Regions from separate parts of the Homo sapiens genome. Here region 2 is linked to region 1. Evidence: promoter capture Hi-C in 16 types of primary human blood cells and fetal thymus (Javierre and others, 2016). All regions are on one chromosome and are shown on one strand. The core of a region is centred on a gene start or on the middle of the fragment in contact, and the rest is flanking DNA. Distances in the headings are between cores, read along the strand shown. Region 1 holds the start of ZC3H10 (zinc finger CCCH-type containing 10). Region 2 overlaps ERBB3 (erb-b2 receptor tyrosine kinase 3).

What was found. The method cuts DNA at HindIII sites, captures the fragments that hold promoters and counts their contacts. A CHiCAGO score of 5 or more calls a contact.
Region 2: a contact is called between a fragment that was not itself captured here and the fragment with the promoter of ZC3H10 in region 1, in 1 of 17 cell types (M2 macrophages). The highest score is 5.5, in M2 macrophages.

Annotation. Positions count from the first base shown.
Region 1 is chr12:56,115,922-56,120,716 of GRCh38, reverse strand. ZC3H10 (zinc finger CCCH-type containing 10) reads right to left here and starts at 2,451. Exons shown (of 3, transcript NM_032786.3): 1 at 2,399-2,451; 2 at 1,566-1,629; 3 at 1-206. The coding sequence starts at 154. It overlaps RPL41 (ribosomal protein L41), which reads right to left and starts at 4,084. Exons shown (of 3, transcript NM_001035267.2): 1 at 3,918-4,084; 2 at 3,506-3,528; 3 at 2,750-3,235. The coding sequence starts at 3,929. The coding sequence ends at 3,193. RefSeq lists a silencer at 2,727-2,776 and an enhancer at 4,443-4,492. The HindIII fragment of the contact is 1,863 bases long and covers 1,727-3,589 here.
Region 2 is chr12:56,082,198-56,086,304 of GRCh38, reverse strand. ERBB3 (erb-b2 receptor tyrosine kinase 3) reads right to left here. Exons shown (of 28, transcript NM_001982.4): 2 at 2,403-2,554; 3 at 1,124-1,310. Among named protein-coding and RNA genes, the nearest start is that of ERBB3, 4.1 kb to the right of the region's middle. The HindIII fragment of the contact is 4,298 bases long and covers 1-4,033 here.

The DNA.
Region 1 (4,795 bases), core at 1,202-3,701:
GCTTGCACACATTCCTCAAGAAGTCTCTACAGATGGCATCTGAGCTGGCCCCGCCACTGCCTACCCCTGCCCCACTGGCCTCCTCGCTGCCACCACCTCCAGGGCCTCCACCGCTGCTCCCGGTACCGTTGGCATAGCTGTCCCGGTCAGGCATCCTGGTCCCGCCCAACTCAGGGTTTTCTTTATCTTGCCACTCTTGGTGACCACTACAAAAGAGGAGAACTGTATCAAACAGGAGTCCTCCAGGGAGATCCCACTCTTCCTGACTATAAAGCAGGTGGCCCAGAGGGGCAATGGCTTTAGAGATGGAGAATCTAAGGGATAAGAATTCTGGCTGAAATGTCTGACTCATCAAAAGCCCCTCCCAGGGTTTTGTGCACCTGGTCTGGGTCAGAATGATTCACACTTGCCTGGCTAACGGAGGAGGGATAGGCCCAGGACGGAGCAGGGAAAAAATAGTGTTGGAATTCATCTTTCCTTTTGAGCTGACCTTATTAAAGTTGTGGAAGTGAAATTAAAACTGCAGTCAGTATCTGAATAGTCTGGAAGGAAACTGGGAATAGTGCCCAAGATGGGCTACTGAGCTACTAGGGCTGTAGAAGATGGGACACTGGTAACAAAACTTCCTTAACCCCCTTTCCTTTTCCTCAGGTAAGGGCTCTGTACACATCAAATCTCTAGAAGCCAAGAAATCCTGGGTGAAGAGACTGGTGTCACCAGCTTGAGGGGAGTCTCAAAACCTGTCATATTTTAGTATTCCCTCCCAGCCATCATCACTGTCAACGGCAGAGAGGTAAGCCCCTTCTATTTCAGGATAGGAGTTCTAAGTTAGAGTCTCCACTTCTAGATTTCCTAGGACAAACCATTTGTGATAAGGTCAAGTGGGAAGGAGTTAATTTCACAGGAACAAGTGACCTTTCCCCATTCCCCACCCCCTTCCTACTCCCCTATGTGAAGATCCCACTGACATCCAACCACACCATTCCTCAACCCAGAAAGATCCTCTTTATTTATAGACTCCATAAAAGCTTTTTAAGTCTCCTATTTCCCAAGAGAGCTTTGGAATGTCAGTCCACTGCCCTGGTTCTAGCCCTCCCCTCTCTCCACCCCCAGTAAGACCTGGAGTCCCTGCTACCACGTGTCTGACCTCCCAAGCCTTTCCTATGCGGTGTTCAGGCTCCCCCTGCTGCTGAAATAGGAAAACTTCATATTGTTCCCTTTGAGAATAAGGGAATCTTTCCTAATTCCTTTGGCCTTGACCTACCCCCACCCCACTACTGTGACTTTGCCTTCAGATCTCCCTAAAATGAACTAACCAAACCAGAGGCCAGAGTTACAAGAGAATCTGTAAGAGGGTCCTCCTCCTCTAAAGAGAGGTAGTCCCAGAATAATAGAAGCAATCAAGGAAAGAAGTGGTAAAAGAAGATACAAACTTTTAGTAAAGGGGAATGACCAGGTGAAGTACAAATGCCATCTATCCAAGCCTGGCTCACGTTGCAAGTCGCACCAGCAGCAGATAATTAGTTATGATGCTCCTCCCCACCCCACTCTCCCAGAATTGATACCTGAGGTAGCTCAGGTGAAGTCCGGGGCTCCTGTGGGTCTCCACCTCCACATCACTGCTGGGTTCTGAGCAGGAAAAAAACAGAGACTTGGGTGGAAGAAGGAGTAAGAGTGGAGGACTATGGGGTGGTTGTCACAAGAAATCTGACAAAACGGCAAAGCTTCGAGAACGTGAGGATTTCCTCAGGGTTCAAACTGAACTTCACCTGTCCAAGGGAGAAGTTGCCAGTAAGAAGAGTAAAACTAATTCGGAGGGACTGGGAGGAGGGGTTGGAAAACCAGCCCTGAGTGAACAAAGAGTGCGGGGCGCCCTGCCTCAAGATGAAAGAGGATGTGAGGGTCAGAGCACCGCCAAGGGCTGGAGTTAGTAATGGCTAGTGAGGAACCTCAAAAAGGCAGCGTCTGACAGTGCATTGGGATGGCCGATTAGACTTGAAGGCAGTGATTGTGACGCTTCCCAACACCCTAGAGTTTGCGAAAGAAGTCCTAGGAGTTTTCCCGCAGCAAGTCTTCTAGCTTGGCAGGTTCCGTGCAGTGCCGCCGGCGCTCAGCCGTGGGCTACGTGAATGGGACACTAAGGGCGCGCGAAGTGAAGCGGGGAGCTGGAGCTCCAGGTGTCATCAAGCTGAGGGGATGGGCAGGGTTGTGACGTCACGAAGCTGGCGTTTGCTCGCGATGCGGGGTCACTCAGAAAAGGGGCACTGCCCTGGGGTGTGAGGACGAGCCAGCTCGGTTCTGGGGGGCCTTCTGTGGCCTGGCCGAGCCCAGCCGCTGGGCCGGCCCCGACTCCTCCCCTCCGGGCGCGGCCTCCACCTAAGTCTCCCGCCTCCCTCACCTGCCGCCGCCGCCGTAGTTGCTGCTGCCGCCTGCCGGTCCTCTAGCTTCGACAAAGAGCCGCCTACCCGATCGCTCTTCCGCTTCCTGCGGAAGAAGTGACGCTCTAGCCAGCAGACCCGGAACCATACTCTATGGTGTATGAAGTACGCGTGCGACATGCCGCAGGGCGTTCCCAGCACGCTTTGCGTGTCACTATGGCAACCCAACCCAAAGGCACGACATGGTCTAAGCGGTAGTCGCCAAGGCAGCCCTCCTGGAAAGGGGCGGTACCAGCATTGGCCCCTAATAACCCGCGAAACCTAAAACCTGCCTCCAGAGACGTACCATATCCCATCCAACTCCAGCGAGATGCAAACCACACCACGTAACCCGGGCTGTTGCCTTTATAGCTTTGATACCCTCCATAGCACAGGTAGTGACAGGGCAAACTCTAATGACAGAAAACCCCCACCCGATGGAACCATAAAAAACATAATAGACAAGATGATTTAATTCTTCAGCTAAAACAGCGGAAGAGGTGATTTATTATATGGTTGTTACACTCGGCCACAAATAAACACAGAAATAGTCCAGAATGTCACAGGTCCAGGGCAGAGGACCAACATGGGCATTTTGTTTATGAGCAAGGTGGGTCTCAGAGGTGATCGGCGATCAGAGGGCGATGAAGTTCTAGATCCATTGAGACAAGCTCTAGACAGTAGCATGCAGTCCCACAACTTGTACCAGCATCCCCAGCGTCTGGCATTCCATGTTTCTGCTCCTGTGGCCTCCACGGTGCAACAAGCTAGCGGTTTACTTGGACCTCTGCCTCATCTTTCTTCTTTTGCGCTTCAGCCTGAAAAGCAGACACAGGAATGGAATACACCTCAAACCAGAGTTGCCTTTCCCTCCCACATTAAATCAAACGTCCACATAAAGAATGAGGTGGTAAAATGAACAAGCACTACGGTTCTATCGTTCTCTGTTCTGTTAAATCCTGGCTCCAGGGAGAAAACACTCAAACGTTTTTCTCCTAAAGATCTTTTAAGATTTCCAAACCAAATGTTTCTCCTAAGTTTTGTCCAAGGAACTTCCCTCCTCCTGGGCTGGCAAAGTCTCAACGTACCTGCGCATTCGCTTCTTCCTCCACTAGCAACCGATCACAAGCAGCAGATAATTAAAAAAAAAAAAAAAAAAAAGGGATGAAGCTTATTAGTAGGCTTAGCAAGGATATGAAATGCACTCTTTAGAACCGGACAGATTCTTAACCAAGAAGTATGAAAGATTGGTCGTAACAACTACATCAGTAACTTGGACACCCTCCCAACATAAGATCAGAATTCCACCCTTTTCTAAGCCCACCCTCTCTACCCATAGCACTTAACCGCTAGCTCTCTCACAAACTACCTTCTCTCTCCCACCAGCTCTTGGGCACCCTTGAAACCCAGTAGTTCAGGAGGTATGGCGGACTTGCCTTCGTCTCCTCGCTACTACTCGCCAACTCCTACCTCCCAAGCTTACTACCAGGAACCGCTCACCTTGGCTCTCATGGCGCAGAGGTTTCTACAGGGAAAGAGAGAAAGGCTACAGTTAGTTTGCTGTGATGATGCTAAGTGCCGAGGTCAGATGTCTATGGATTGTACACGGAATCCCAACGCAGGAACCAAAAAACACTCACCCAAAAAAATGGCGCTAAGGCCGAGAGAAAGGCGAAGTTCCGTCTACGGCTATTTAATGGAGCGCCGGGTGTCGTCACTTCCGCTTTCACGCCCTTTGCCCCCCCCAAGGGCGGGGCTACCCAATGGGCGTAACAGTGGTTTTCGGACCCTCTTGTAGAAGGGTAGGTTGAGTTAGTTCTTTCGGAAGACCGAGTATTTGGTTTTCGAGTTACCAGTTCCCCCCCAGATTTAGTATGAGGACGCTGTGTTATTTAAACGTCAGCACCTATTTCCAATATTGGACCTAGAGGTGCAGACGGGGAAAAAATAGTGACCGCCACCTTCCCTCGCATTGCTTCTTGGGAGTTGCAGTTCCCTGGAGAAGTCCTCCATTTTGCTATGGATAGGCGCGGACTGTACAGAAATTCTTGTTTTACTGGTTTGCCTTCTTTTCTTTCTTTCTTTCTTTCTTTCTTTCTTTCTTTCTTTCTTTCTTTCTTTCTTTCTTTCTTTTCTTTCTTTCTTTCTTTTTTTCTTTTTTGAGACAGGATCTCACTGTGTCACCCAGGCTGGAGTGCAGTGACGCGATCTCGGCTCACCGCAATTTCCGCCTCCTGAATACAAGCGATTCTCCCGCCTCAGCTTCCCGAGCAGCTGGGACAACAGGCGCGCGCCACTTGGCTAATTTTTGTATTTTTAGTAGAGACGAGGTTTCGCTGTGTTGCCCAGGCTGGTCTCGAACTCCTGAGCTCAAGCGA
Region 2 (4,107 bases), core at 635-3,134, 34 kb after region 1:
GTGGGGGAGGGGAAGGGAGAGAGGGAGAGATTTCTGACTCAACATTCCCTCCCCCAAGCCCTGCCCATATGTTTTCCAACTGACTGGGACATGGAGAAGCAGAAGATGGACAGGTGGTTTTTAACCCCTATATTCCTCCAGCTCATAGGGGTTTGGTTTAGGAGAGTAAAGGTAGAATTCCTAGGGAAGGAGGGACATCCAGGTATACTGTACTTTGGTTTTTTTTTTTTTTTTTTTTTTTGGAGTCTCGCTCTGTCGCCCAGGCTGGAGTGCAGTGGTGCAATCTTGGCTCACTGCAAGCTCCGCCTCCCGGGTTCACGCCATTCTCCTGCCTCAGCCTCCCGAGTAGCTCGGACTACAGGCGCCCGCCACCACACCTGGCTAATTTTTTGTATTTTTAGTAGAGACGGGGTTTCACCGTGTTAGCCAGGATGGTCTCGATCTCCTGACCTTGTGATCCACCTGCCTTGGCCTCCCAAAGTGCTGGGATTACAGGCGTGAGCCACCGCGCCCAGGCTTTTTTTTTTTTTTTTTTTTTTTTTTGAGACGGAGTCTCACTGTCACTTACGCTAGAGTGCAGTGGTGCAATCTCAGCTCACTGCAACCTCCACCTCCCAGGTTCAAGCGAGTCTCCTGCCTCAGCCTCATGAACAGCTGGGATTACAGGTGCGCACCACTATAGCCAGCTAATTTTTTATTTTATTTTATTTTTTTGTATTTTTAGTAGAGACAGGGTTTCGCCATGTTGGCCAGGCTGGTCTCAAACTCCTGATCTCAAGTGATCTGCCCTCCTTGGCCTCCCAAAATGCTGGGATTACAGGTGTAAGCCATCAGGCCTGGCCTCCGGTACACTGTACTTTGAAATTAGAAAAACGGTTAACAGATCCAGCTCTGACTCCAGCCCCACAAGGACACAGGGTTCCTTTCCCTGGAGCAGATGCCCCTAGCTCCCCCTACTGGGGGCCCTCTATTGCTTAGGGAGCAATGGACCTTTAGACAGCGGCCAAGGTGACAGGCACCTTGGAAGAGGCACTTAGAGTGAGCAGTCTTGGGTCATCATCAAGGAGGTACCAGTCTTGGGCTGGCTGAGGGGTGAGGCCAGAAGGAACCATCGGGAACTGACCGGTGAGCTGAGTCAAGCGGAGCTGGCGCAGAGCGTGGCTGGAGTTGGTGTTATAGTTCAACATGACGAAGATGGCAAACTTCCCATCGTAGACCTGGGTCCCTCGCACCACGCGGAGGTTGGGCAATGGTAGAGTAGAGAATTCATTCATGGCCACGAGGACATAGCCTGTCACTTCTCGAATCCACTGTGACAGAGCAGATTATGTAAATGAGAGAGACAACAGGGCAAAATAATCTCAATCTCCTCTCCTCCTTCAGGCATTAAAGACTCTTTAACTGTTTTAATTCTTCCTTCTTTCTTTCCTTTCTTTTTTTCTTTTTTTTAAAATTTGAGACGGAGTTACGCTCTTGTTGCCCAGGCTGGAGTACAATAGTGCGATCTTGGCTCACCACAACCTCCACCTCCCGGGTTCAAGCAATTCTCCTGCCGCAGCCTCCCAAGTAGCTGGGATTACAGGCATGTGCCACTACACCTGGCTAATTTTGTATTTTTAGTAGAGATGTGGTTTTTCCATGTTGGTCAGGCTGGTCTCGAACTCCTGACCTCAGGTGATCCGAGCTTGGCCTTTTTTTTTTTTTTTGGTGAGACAGGGTCTCGCTCTGTTACGAGTGGCACAATCTCGCTCACTGCAGCGTCAAACTCCTGGGCTCAAGCAATCCTCCCACCTCAGCCCTCCAAGTAGCTGGGACTACAGGTGCATGCCACCATACCCAGCTAATTTTTGTATTTTTGTAGAGACAGCGTTTCACCACATTGCCCAGGCTGGTCTTGAACTCCTGACCTCAAGTGATCTGCCTTCCTTGGCCTCCCAAAGTGCTGGGATTACAGGCATGAGCCACTGCACCTGGCCTTAACTCTTGCTAATTCCTATTTGGGAGTAGGGAGTAGACTGTGTCACACTGCTGTGTCACTTCTGGGAGTGAAGACAGGCAGCTTTCTCCTCAAAGTGCCTCATACCAGTAGGGCCCCTTCCTCATCTCCCCAGGTAACCTCTTGGTCCTCAGGTTTCTCTCTGCACTAGTCCCTGCTGACCTTGCACTATCCACAGAACACCACCTGCCCCTGACCCTGCCCCCTATATATCCCTGGCTACAACAGTGAGACCATAGGTCCCAGATGACAGCCACTGTCCCCATAAATACACGGTTTTGAATCTTAGGAACTCCTGAGTCTTAGGAAGGGTGAACTCCAGCAGAAGGTAGCCCTGAAGAAGGAAGGAGGGTTCTAGGGGAGAATAAAGAGGAGCAGGTTGAGGAAGGAGGGTGGGCTCACTAACCTGCAGGAAGGAGAGGTCGGCATTGTGTCCCGTGAGCACAATCTCAAGGTTCCCCATCACCACCTCACACCTCTCGTAGAGCTTGTACAGTGTCTGGTATTGGTTCTCAGCATCGCCGGTCACACTCAGGCCATTCAGAGTCCCAGGACACACTGTTCAAAGCAGAGGGAAGAGTGGCTGAGGGCTGGACACAAATTCTCAGCCCATCTGCCATCCCCAAAGATCACCCCCTTGGTTGCCCTCTTCCAGTTACATTAGACAGGATCAGATGGCATTTGCCTCCAACCCTCCCACAAGCGATAGGCAGAAGCTGTAGTGGCCTGAGAGCTTTCTCTCTTCTCAGAATCCCCTTACCATTCCATGAATGGGAAGGTGAAAAGATTTCCTTTTTCAACCTGGGACCCCTCTGTGCTTCTTTTGGGTACTAAGGGGTTAACTGAGAAGGAAGACAGGGAATTTGTTTCTCTCCCTAGAAAAGAGAAGTTAGGAAAAGGCCGCAACTTTGATTACCCTCCTCTCCCCCTCCAACTAGGGCACTCACTTCTCTACCCTCATCCTGCCTCTCTCTAGGTCCTGGAATAAATATCTCTTTGGGACTAGTACACAGCCCCTATTGTGTCTACTGAGGGTGGGATGGGGGCAGAGGGTGGGGGCAGTGCCTGGGGCCACAGTCCAGCCCACAATGAGGCGATTCTATCCAGGAGGGGGGCTGCCCCACCCTGTCCCTAGACACCCCGTCCTCAGCAGCACTCCCCTCCACCCTCAAGCCTTGGGCTCAGACAAGTGACCTCAGTAGAGGGGGGAGCTCTGGCAGTGCTGGGGTGAGGGGGGGTCAATGGGAGCTTTGTCTTTAAAGCTGAAAGATAAGGAGCTAGTTGCCTCCCCGCCTTCCTAAACTCAGGGTTTCCTTCTCACTCTCTCCCCCATCCCAACACACTCTAGCAACCTCAGCATCACTTTCCAGCCCTAGAGTATTTTTCAGCAAATACAGAGGAACCTGGAGAGAGATAGTAGCAGATGCCCCATATTGAGCCTCCACACAATTTCATTGTTAGAAGAGGTTCATGAAAAAGCCTTTCACCATGGCAATCCTCACCCACACTAGGGGAGAGCCTAGACTAGAGGTACATGGCATGTCAGCCTTGGGAGTTCACTCTTCTTTGCAAATGTGGTGGACAACGGGCTATGGGAAGTCCTGGACTCTGAAGCCCTACCCCAGTCTCTTTCCTCTGGTTCAGGGAAAGACCATGTGTGGGGTGGGGAGTAGGGGGTAGATACCACCTGTTCCAGCCACCCTTCCCTGAGGCGGTGGTAGCTCAGTGGGAGGCAACAGTGGGAATGGAGGGAGGGAGACTGGTGAGGCCCCAATCCCTCCTATAACATACACCCCTAGTCTGACTTCTTGACCTTGGAGGGCTCCTTATCACTCCCCATGAAGGTTGGCTAGTCCCAGCAAAGAGAGCTAGTTCCAGAGGAGCTGGGAACTCCAGGGTCCTTGGGTTGAAATGAAAGAGACTAGGAAGGTTAGTCATTTCTGGAACAGCCCCACCCCAATCCCCTTCCTGGCAGGATACCCCCTTTCCCAAGTTATAGTGCCAACACTTCTCCCCAGATAAGGGAGGAGCCAAGCTTTCTGCACAGGGAAGTAGTAGTGTGGGCACACACATACACACACAATGTACACACGAACACGTACACATTGGTC